Regions from separate parts of the Homo sapiens genome. Here region 1 is linked to region 2. Evidence: promoter capture Hi-C in 16 types of primary human blood cells and fetal thymus (Javierre and others, 2016). All regions are on one chromosome and are shown on one strand. The core of a region is centred on a gene start or on the middle of the fragment in contact, and the rest is flanking DNA. Distances in the headings are between cores, read along the strand shown. Region 1 has its middle 13 kb from the start of RPS24. Region 2 holds the start of TMEM254 (transmembrane protein 254).

Region 1 (4,567 bases), core at 1,287-3,786, 2.0 Mb before region 2:
GGAGCAGGCAGTGTGGGACAAGGTGAGACCAGTCATTCTGCAAGGGGAAGAGAGGATGACACTGGGGAGGTGGGAGCAGAGTGGGTAGGTAGGCATTCTCTTGAATCAACAAGATGGAAGGCCCTACATGACTGATGCCTTTGAGCAGAGTTTTGCACAATGCATTTCTGGTGGGAGATACTCCATTTCAAAAATAGTCTTCAGGTTGGCTGCTAGAGCACAGAAGTATGACACCTGACTCATTTGTGCTGGCAGAGAGGCTCTCCTGGGTTTTAGAGCTTTGTGAACACACCTCCATACATTAATCCAACTGTCCTTCCCCATCCACTCACCCTTGAACTTCCCGCATGCCAGATGTTGAGGGGAGGCAGAAATGAGACCTGCCTCCCAGTGCCCACAGTCTGGATGAGAGGGTACAGGTGAGGTCCTGGTAAGAAACGAAGCTGGAGAGGTCAGCGGAGAATAAATCAGGGAGGATCTTGTATGCCAAGCTAAGGATTTCACTTGTTCAGTGTTTTGGTTAAAGAAAATAAAACGTTGGAGAATTAGATGTTCTGCAGTGGATTGTGTGTTCTTTTCACATGCCGAGTTCCTCCACACAGGAAATACTTTGGCAACGCTCTGGCTGCTCATCATGCATATTGGAGAGGGAATTTATGTAGAAGGTTATGGGTCGATGAGATGGCATCCAAGTATTTATCGTATTTTTTTGAGATGGAGTTTCACTCTTGTTGCCCCGGCTGGAGTGCAATGGCACGACCTCAGCTCACTGCAACCTCCGCCTCCTGGGTTCAAGCAATTCTCTGCCTCAGCTTCCCGAGTAGCTGGGATTACAGGCATGTGCCACCATACCTGGCTAATTTTGTATTTTGTAGTAGAGACGGAGTTTTTCCATGTTGGTCAGGCTGGTCTTGAACTCCTGACCTCAGGTGATCTGCCCACCCCGCCTCCCAAAGTGCTGGGATTACCGTCGTGAGGCACCGCGCCTGGCCCCAAGTATTAATAACTCGGAAAAAGGGACCAGATCAGGAATCAGGAGTCACAGTTCCTGATCTCCACTCAGCTTACAATCAGCTGGGGCCATGGATGGGCAAAAGACTTCCCTTTTCTGGGCTTCTATTTCCCTCCCTGTGTCTGTCTGCTATCCGGGCTAGATGAGTAATTCCGAAACCTGGCAGGTGGGGGCTTTCTTTTTTTCTTTTTGTGAGATGGAGTGTTGCTTTGTCACCCAGGCTGGGGTGCAGTGGCACTGTTTTGGCTCACTGCAACCTCTGCCTCCTGAGTTCAAGCGATTCTCCTGCCTCAGTCTTCTGAGTAGCTGGAACTACAGGCGCCTGCCACCATGCTTGGGTAATTTTTTGTATTTTTAGTAGAGATGGGGTTTCACCATGTTGGCCAGGCTGGGGGCTTGTTAAAAATACAAATGCTGGCTGGGTGTGGTGGCTTATACCTGTAATCCCGGCACTTTGGGAGGCTGAGGCGGGTGGATCACTTGACGTCAGGAGTTCGAGACCAGCCTGGCCAACATGGTGAAACATCTCTACTAAAAATACAAAAATTAGCTGGGCGTGGTGGTGCGTGCCTGTAATCTCAATTACTCAGGAGGTGGAGGCACGAGAATTGCTTGAACCCAGGAGGCGGAGGTTGCAGTGAGCCGAGACCATGCCACTGCACTCCAGCCTGGGTGACAGAGCGAGGCTCTGTCTCAAAAACAACAAATGCCCAGCCTCTTGCCCCAGTTTTCAGAGTTAGTAGATCTGGGTAGCGCCCAAGCACCTGATGTTTTAATAGCTTCCCAGGTGAGGCTGCTTCAGGAAACTGGACTGAAGCTTCCCAGGTGAGCTCAGGCTTGGGAAGCTGGACTGAAGTTTCTCTAAGATCCGTTCTGCCTCTGAGAATTCTGTCTCTAATGGGAATACTGTCTCTGCCCTCAAGAAGCTGGCAGATGAACAGTAATACTATTGCTAATTAATGACCACAGAATAGCTAACATTTATTGTTTACCATGTGCCAGGTACTGAGCTAAGTCTTGCACAAATTATCTCATTTACCTTTTTTTTTTTTTTTTTTTGAGAATGAGTCTCGCTCTGTCACCCAGGCTGGAGCTCTGGATTGCACCAGTGGCGCAATCTCAGCTCACTGCAACCTCCACCTTCTGGGTTCAAGTGATTCTCCTGCCTCAGCCTCCATAGTAGCTGGGATTACAGGTGTGTACCACCACACCTGGCTAATTTTTGTATAGTAGAGACAGGGTTTCTCCATGTTGGCCAGGCTGGTCTTGAACTCCAGACCTCAGGTGACCCACCTGCCTCAGCCTCCCAAAGTGCTGGGATTACAGGCATGATCCACTGCACCTGGCCTCATTTACCTGCACTCGGAGGGAAGTACTATTACCCCCATTTTATAGATGAGGAAATTGAGGCTCAAAGAGGTTAAGGAACTTGGTTAAAGTTACACAACTATGGCATCCTATGATAAGCCTGGGGGCATTTGTGGAACATCTTGCCAAGGAGCTAGAAATGGTCCTGAGCCTTAAATGGGTGGAGGTGATTAGCTGAGGCAGCGATTCTCCAGGTGTGGTCCTGGACAGCAGCAGCAGTGTCACCAGGGAACTTGCTAGAAATTCAATTTCTTGGGCTCCACCCTAGAATTACTGAATCAGAAGCTGTGGGTGGGGCCAGGTAACCTGTTTTTTTTTTTGAGTTGCCCAGGCTGGAGTGCAGTGGCGTGATCTTGCTTCACTGCAACCTCCGCCTCCTGGGTGCGATTCTCCACCTCAGCTTCCTGAGTAGCTGGGACTACTGGTGCCTGCCACCACGCCTGGCTAATTTTTTTTTTTTTTGTACTTTTTAGTAGAGATGGGATTTCACCATGTTGGTCTGGCTGGTCTTGAACTCCTGACGTCAGGTGATCCGCTGGCCTCGGCCTCCAAAAGTGCTGGGATTATAGGTGTGAGCCACCGCGTCCAGCCAGAACCTGTGTTTTGATAAGCTCTCCAGGTGATTCAGATGCATGCTAAAGTTTGAGAACCACTGAGCTTAGGGAAGGGGAGGATATTCCAGAGGGGGACAGCTGTGGAGACCCGGTAGGACAGTGCTGTAGACTGCCCCATCCCTGCCTTTTCACTTGGTGAAATAAAGACGTGTGATGCACTATGCAGACTCCCACAAGGGGGCACTGTGGGCACAGACGTGGAAGCGGTCTGCTTTGTTGTCAAGACCGCTACCCTTGTGGAAGCATGAAAAAAGCTTGATGCCAGATCAACTGGAGAGGTCACTCTTTCTTCTCAGAGAAGGTCTAATGGGGGTGGTAATCTTGTTTATAGGATTCGGCCCTCGTAGGGAAGCTGAACCTGGAGGGCTTTCTGCTGTTCATATGTGCATGGTGATGTCTACCCATCCGTGCTGCGAGGTCTCTGCAGATCCTGTGCAAACAGCATTCCCCCTTTTGTAGCTGCCCAGCCAGGCAGCTTGCGGTTTCTATTGGGGGAGGTGGGGGCCGAAGGCTGGGAACCCCAGCAGCCCGATTCTGCTTCAGCCTTCTGCCTACAGTGCTATGCCTCTGTCCTATTCTTTGACAAGCATGGGTCCGGGGCCACAGTGCTGGGTCCAAGACCTGTTTTCAAGCCTTAGCTCTGCCCCACCACACTTTAAGATCTCTGGCAAGACCCCTTTCTCCTCTGGGTCTCAGTTTCCTACACTGTAGGATGAGAGAGTGGTGCTGAGAAAGTGGCTGTCAACATCTCTTTCCACTATAAAATTCTGCCCTGGGAGTTGAGGAAGAGACTGCCTTGTGCTTTTCAAGGACCTCGGATTGCAGGGGATCTGTAAACCCTGCTACATGACATCCATCTCCAGTAGCCACTTAAGGAAGCATTTCCAGGGATATGGTGCAAGTCAGTAAGGTGGAATCTCTCAAACAAGATTTTTTAAAAAGTCCATATCTTCAGACATCCAGAATTTGCTTTTATAGGTTTCTATTCTGCACTGTTTGGAAGAAGGAAAATTTATACCATGTTCTCTTTTCTGCTGCAGTGTGTATTTCTTCCAAAAATACATTGCCTCGGAGGGTCTTTGGCATTCACCTCGTTAATCCAGGGATTGGCATCCTATACTCTCGGTGACTGCTCACCCAGCTGAGCCACTGCTCTGCCTGGGCAGGAAATCTCCAGAACTGCCTTTTCAGAGCGCTATAGATGTGCTCATCCCTGGGTTATAAGGGGATTCAAAAGAGTGGTCCAGCCCTCTGCTGGCTCCCACCGTCGATGATGATATTCAGAGAGTCTGGTTAGAAATTGCCCAACCCAGCCGCGTGCGGTGGCTCACGCCTGTAATCACGTTGGGAGGCCAAGATGGGCAGATCACAAGGTCAGGAGTTCGAGACCAGCTTGGTCAATATGGTGAAACCCCGTCTCTACTAAAAACACAAAAATTAGCCGGGCATGGGGGCATGCACCTGTGGTCCCAGCTGCTCAGGAGGCTGAGGCAGAAGAATCGCTTGAACCTGGGAGAGGGAGGTTGCAGTGAGCCGCGATTGCACCACTGCACTCCAGCCTGGGCGACAGAGC
Region 2 (4,692 bases), core at 1,398-3,897:
TAGGAAGGAGTGACTGACTCATGAGACAGTGGAGATGAAGCCATGATTTAATCTAGAAGGATTAGATATTGTATTACCCAATCAGTAGAACTCTTGACAGCTGATTAGTCTGCAATCTTTATATGATATGGGGGAAGTCAAAGCAAGGAATCTGGGTACAAGGTAGAAAGAAAGTGCTGTTCACATAGAGTAGGCCGGGCGAGGTGGCTCATACTTGTAATCCCAACACTTTGGGAGGCCGAGGCAGGCAGATCACCTGAGGTCAGGAGTTCGAGACCAGCCTGGCCAACATGGTGAAACCCCGTCTCCACAATTAGCCAAGCGTGGTGGTGCACACCTGTAATCCAAGCTACTCAGGAGGCTGAGACAGGGGAATCACTTGAAGTGGGGAGGCAGAGGTTGCAGTGAGCCGAGATCGCAACACTGCACTCCAGCCTGGGCAACAAGAGCAAAACTCCATCTCAAAAAAAAAAAAAAAAAAAAAAAAAACCACAGACAGGGTAGCCTTGGTGAGGATGGACTCTGTGGATAATGATAATGGACTTCTTGTCTTTGAGGTGTGAGTAATCTTTGGTAAAGGTGACCAACTGGGAAGAGGTGAGGGCTGAAGAGATTATTTTAGTCAGCTGAAGGTGAAAATTGAATCTGATAGGTACTGAAAACACAAAGAAGATAATAAGCAAAACTTATTCTAGGAGAGAAGAAAGAAAAGGAAAGCTGAGAAAACAAGGAGTTATTCAGAAGGAGGAGAAGAATAAAGAGGGTGGTGTGATCAAGGATGATAAGGACTAAGAAAACACCAATTGTTACAATTGTTACTGTTAATCTTGATATTCAAGAGCACTGTGGTCTACCTGGGAAATGGATTTCCTCACATATTCTGAAATTCATTCTTTAAGACTTTATATCCCAAGATACTCACGTAAAAAATGAGGAAAGAGAACCTTGGTTGGTTCCAGAGTGCCCTCTCTGGAACTGGAACACTCAGCTGCCAATTGTTTTCCAGTATTCCTCACCCACTTGGGCATGACAGGACCCTGTGCTGTTTCTTCTTCTTTGAAATAAGGACAATAGTTTACTGCCTAGGATTGTTTTAAGAATTAAATTAGTTAATTATTGTATAGTACTTAGAACAATGCCTTGAACATAGTAGGTGTTCAATAAATACCAGCTACAGTATAGTAACTTTTTTTTTTTTTTTTTGACGGAGTCTCACTCTATAGCCCAAGCTGAAGTGCAGTGATTGGATCTCGGCTCACTGCAACCTCCGCCTCCGGTGCTCAAGCAATTCTCGTGCCTCAGCCTCCCAAGTAGTTGGGACTATAGACACGCGCCACCACCCCCAGCTAATTTTTTGTATTTTAGTAGAGACAGGGTTTCACCATGTTCTCCAGGGTGGTCTCGAACTCCTGAGCGATCCACCCACCTCGGCCTCCAAAAGTGCCAGGATTATAGGCTTGAGCCACTGCGCTTGGCCAGTAACCCATTTTTAAGGCCCAGGTGAAATAGTTTTTCTATTTCTATGATTTTCTATTTCTATGATTAAATAGTGTTTAATCAGACACTTCAGCTGCATATACCTCCCACAGCTCATTGATGATACAACAGTTCGCACAGGGCCTGGCACACATGCTAAAGGCTCAGCAGTATTGATAATCACCCACACTTACAAAGCACTATGGGCCAGACACTGCTGTGCTTTCTTTACAGATATCAACTCATTTAACCCACCCTAAAAACCCTGAGGTTCCCAAAACTGGCATATCCTCATGTTACAGATACAGAAACTAAGACACAGCCGGGCTAAGTAATTAATCTAAGCTTACACAAATAGCCGAGACAGAGCCAGGACTTAAATCCAGGCAGCCTGTTTCACAGTCCCTGCTCATAACCATGGTGCTGTATAGTTCCAAACATCTTAACTAATGAGGACAGCATTATTTCTCAAGGTGCACAGCACAGAGAACTTCAAAAATTAGACTCTTAGTAAAACACCATCTTTTTTTTTTTTTTTTGAGACAGGGTCTTGCTGTGTTGCCCAGGCTGGAGTGCAGTGGCGTGATCTGGGCCCACTGCAACCTGCACCTCTCAGGTTCAAGAGAGTCTTGTCTCAGCCTCTGGAGTTGCTGGGACTACAGGCAGGCACCACCGCGCCCAGCAAATTTTTTGTATTTTTAGTACAGACGGGGTTTCACCATGTTGACCACGCTGGTCTCAAACTCCTGACCTCAAGTGATCTGCCCGACTCGGCCTCCCAAATTGCTGGAATTTATTCCAACACCTCATTCATTCATTCATTCATTCGAGACAGAGTCTAGCTATGTTACCCGGGCTGGTCTCAAACTCCTGGGCTCAAGGGATCTTTCTACCTCAGCCTCCCAACGTGCTGAGATTACAGGGACACGCCACCGCGCCAGCCCGAACATCTTTATCTTAAACCCAGAAAAGTGACAGGAGTGTCTCCCCTACAAGATGATGACCAGCCCTCCAGACCTGAGCCCAGGTGTGATTCCAAGGCCCCTGTACTGGGGCCAGACAGGGAGACTCGCTCTCAGGGACTTCCCAACCAGCACCATCTTCTCCCTGCGGGGATGGCGAGGGAGCGCGGGCCGGCCCCGGCCCTGCCTCCGCGCTCGCGCTCGACGGTGTCCTGAAGCGCGCTCCCGGGGAGGTGTTGCAGCCATGGCTACGGCAGCCGGCGCGACCTACTTTCAGCGAGGCAGTCTGTTCTGGTTCACAGTCATCACCCTCAGCTTTGGCTACTACACAGTAAGGACAGCCGCTGGAGCGCTACGGTCTGACGAACGAGCGAGCGCTCGGTTCACCCCAGGACCTGGGCTCACAGGCCGCGGGCCGGGGGAAGTCGTGCAAGCACAATCCCGACTCCCGCGCGCTAGGAGCGGAGGGGAGGGGACCAGACTCCGCAATGAGAGCAAGCATACTGGTCCGCCAGGGTCTTGGGCGGGCGCCCAGGGCCCTGAGAAACCGGCTAGCCAGGCTTTTCTTATATGGGGGCGGGGACGGCTGGGGAGCTCCCAGCCAACTCTGTGTCTGGGTTTTTCAAGAGGATGGTGAAGTCGGAGGCCAGCAATGCGGCTACCGCCTATTTCCGTCCAGCAAGACCCTTGCCCTCTCTGGTCACAGTCCTGGGGCTGGGCTACTTCGCGGTGAGGCGTGGGGTGGGGCGGGGCGGGCCTCTGTTTTGGCCCGCCGGGCCCTCGTAGGGCGAGGGGAGCTCTGGGAACGGGGCCTGTGCGCACGCGCATCTGACGGTTGTCTCGGTTACTCATGTAAGCGGAAATTCGGTGGGCTCTTAGGATAGTTTCTGCTTTCTAGTGTTCCTGTCTTTGGGTCCTCACCTCTGCATGGTTACTAACGGGTTATCCGAGCCTAAGCCTCTCACGAAGCGGAAAGTCAAGTTAACAGACTGCCATAGGCCTGCCAAGTCAGAATAGGGCTTCCGAAGCAGAATGTTTGAGCCAATAGGAATTGTTTGGAAAACGGGGATAAATCTAAAGGATGGGTAGGATTTAAGTGGTAAGGGAGGATAAAGAGGCTATAACTGTTCTGACATAGGTGTGGAAGCAAGAAGAAAGCTGTACCTAGAAAAAGAGCGACGTTTGTTTGGCTGAGAAATAATCTGTTTAAAGGATAACGAGAAAGATGCGTGGAAAAGTAGGTTGGGGGCTAAGGTGGTAGTTTTGTGTTTTTTTGAGACGGAGTCTCGCTCTGTCACCCAGGCTGGAGTGCAGTGGGGCGATCTCGGCTCACTGCAACCTCTGCTTCCCAGGTTCAAGCGATTCTCATGTCTTTACCTGTAGCTGGGATTACACTATGCCCAGCTATTTTTTTGTGTTTTTAGTAGACATGGGTATTGGTGAGGCTGGCCTCGAACTCCTAACGTCAAGTGATAAGGTGGTAAAATTTTGAAGGAAGGCGAAGCTATTTGGGTATACCAATAGATCCTGGAGATTGGAGATTTGTCTTGTCCACAGTGTTGTTTGTTGGTGTCAAATCTGACAACCTATGTCCTGATTTCCCCATATGTACAATGGAGGTGTTGAACTGAAAATTTTCAAAGGTGCATTTCTGTTCTACGATTTAGTGTCTGTGACTAGTTAGAATATAGTTGGAGGAAAGCTTTGGGGACTTCAAATTGGGATCTTGTGGAGCTGGCAGATGCTCCCCTTTCCCTTTGGTTTGGGAGGATGCAGTGATATTTGTGCATTATTTAACTTTCAGATGTGAAACAACATCGTGAGAGAGGTAGTACTGCTCTTGACAAAGATTTGAATGGGACAATACATTTTGAAACTGTTGAGTTATTCTCAGAAAAGTCTTAGCTGACAGAAGTTACAATACAGAGGCTGAAAGTTAAGATTACGAAAAATTTATGTGATTAAGCAGTTGCTATTAAAATGTCACAACCTTATCTCACTTATTTTCCATCTCTATGCAGTGGATCATTCTCAGTTTTAGCCGTACAAAAAGGGAAAGCCGAGAAAGGAATTCTAAATTAAACAGAGGTTTGGCTGGAGCCAGTTTCTGCAGTAAAGAAACTAGCCAAAGCACATAAACTCAAAATTTGCTAATATCTTTTATAAAATAATGGTTTTGGTGGAATGTATTAATAGGAGTCAGCCAGGCATGGTGGTTCACCCCTGTAATCCCAGCACTTTGGGAGGCCGAGGC

Evidence for each region. The method cuts DNA at HindIII sites, captures the fragments that hold promoters and counts their contacts. A CHiCAGO score of 5 or more calls a contact.
Region 1: a fragment that was not itself captured here is called in contact with the fragment with the promoter of TMEM254 in region 2 in 2 of 17 cell types (non-activated CD4 T cells and naive CD8 T cells); the score reaches 6.1 in non-activated CD4 T cells.

Annotation. Positions count from the first base shown.
Region 1 is chr10:78,044,295-78,048,861 of GRCh38, forward strand. It overlaps a transcript of RPS24 not described here. Among named protein-coding and RNA genes, the nearest start is that of RPS24, 13 kb to the left of the region's middle. RefSeq lists an enhancer at 3,276-3,335. The HindIII fragment of the contact is 1,419 bases long and covers 1,828-3,246 here.
Region 2 is chr10:80,076,018-80,080,709 of GRCh38, forward strand. It overlaps TMEM254 (transmembrane protein 254), which reads left to right and starts at 2,648. Exons shown (of 4, transcript NM_025125.4): 1 at 2,648-2,769. The coding sequence starts at 2,683. TMEM254-AS1 (TMEM254 antisense RNA 1) reads right to left here and starts at 3,176. Exons shown (of 4, transcript NR_027432.1): 1 at 2,710-3,176. The HindIII fragment of the contact is 2,319 bases long and covers 1,820-4,138 here.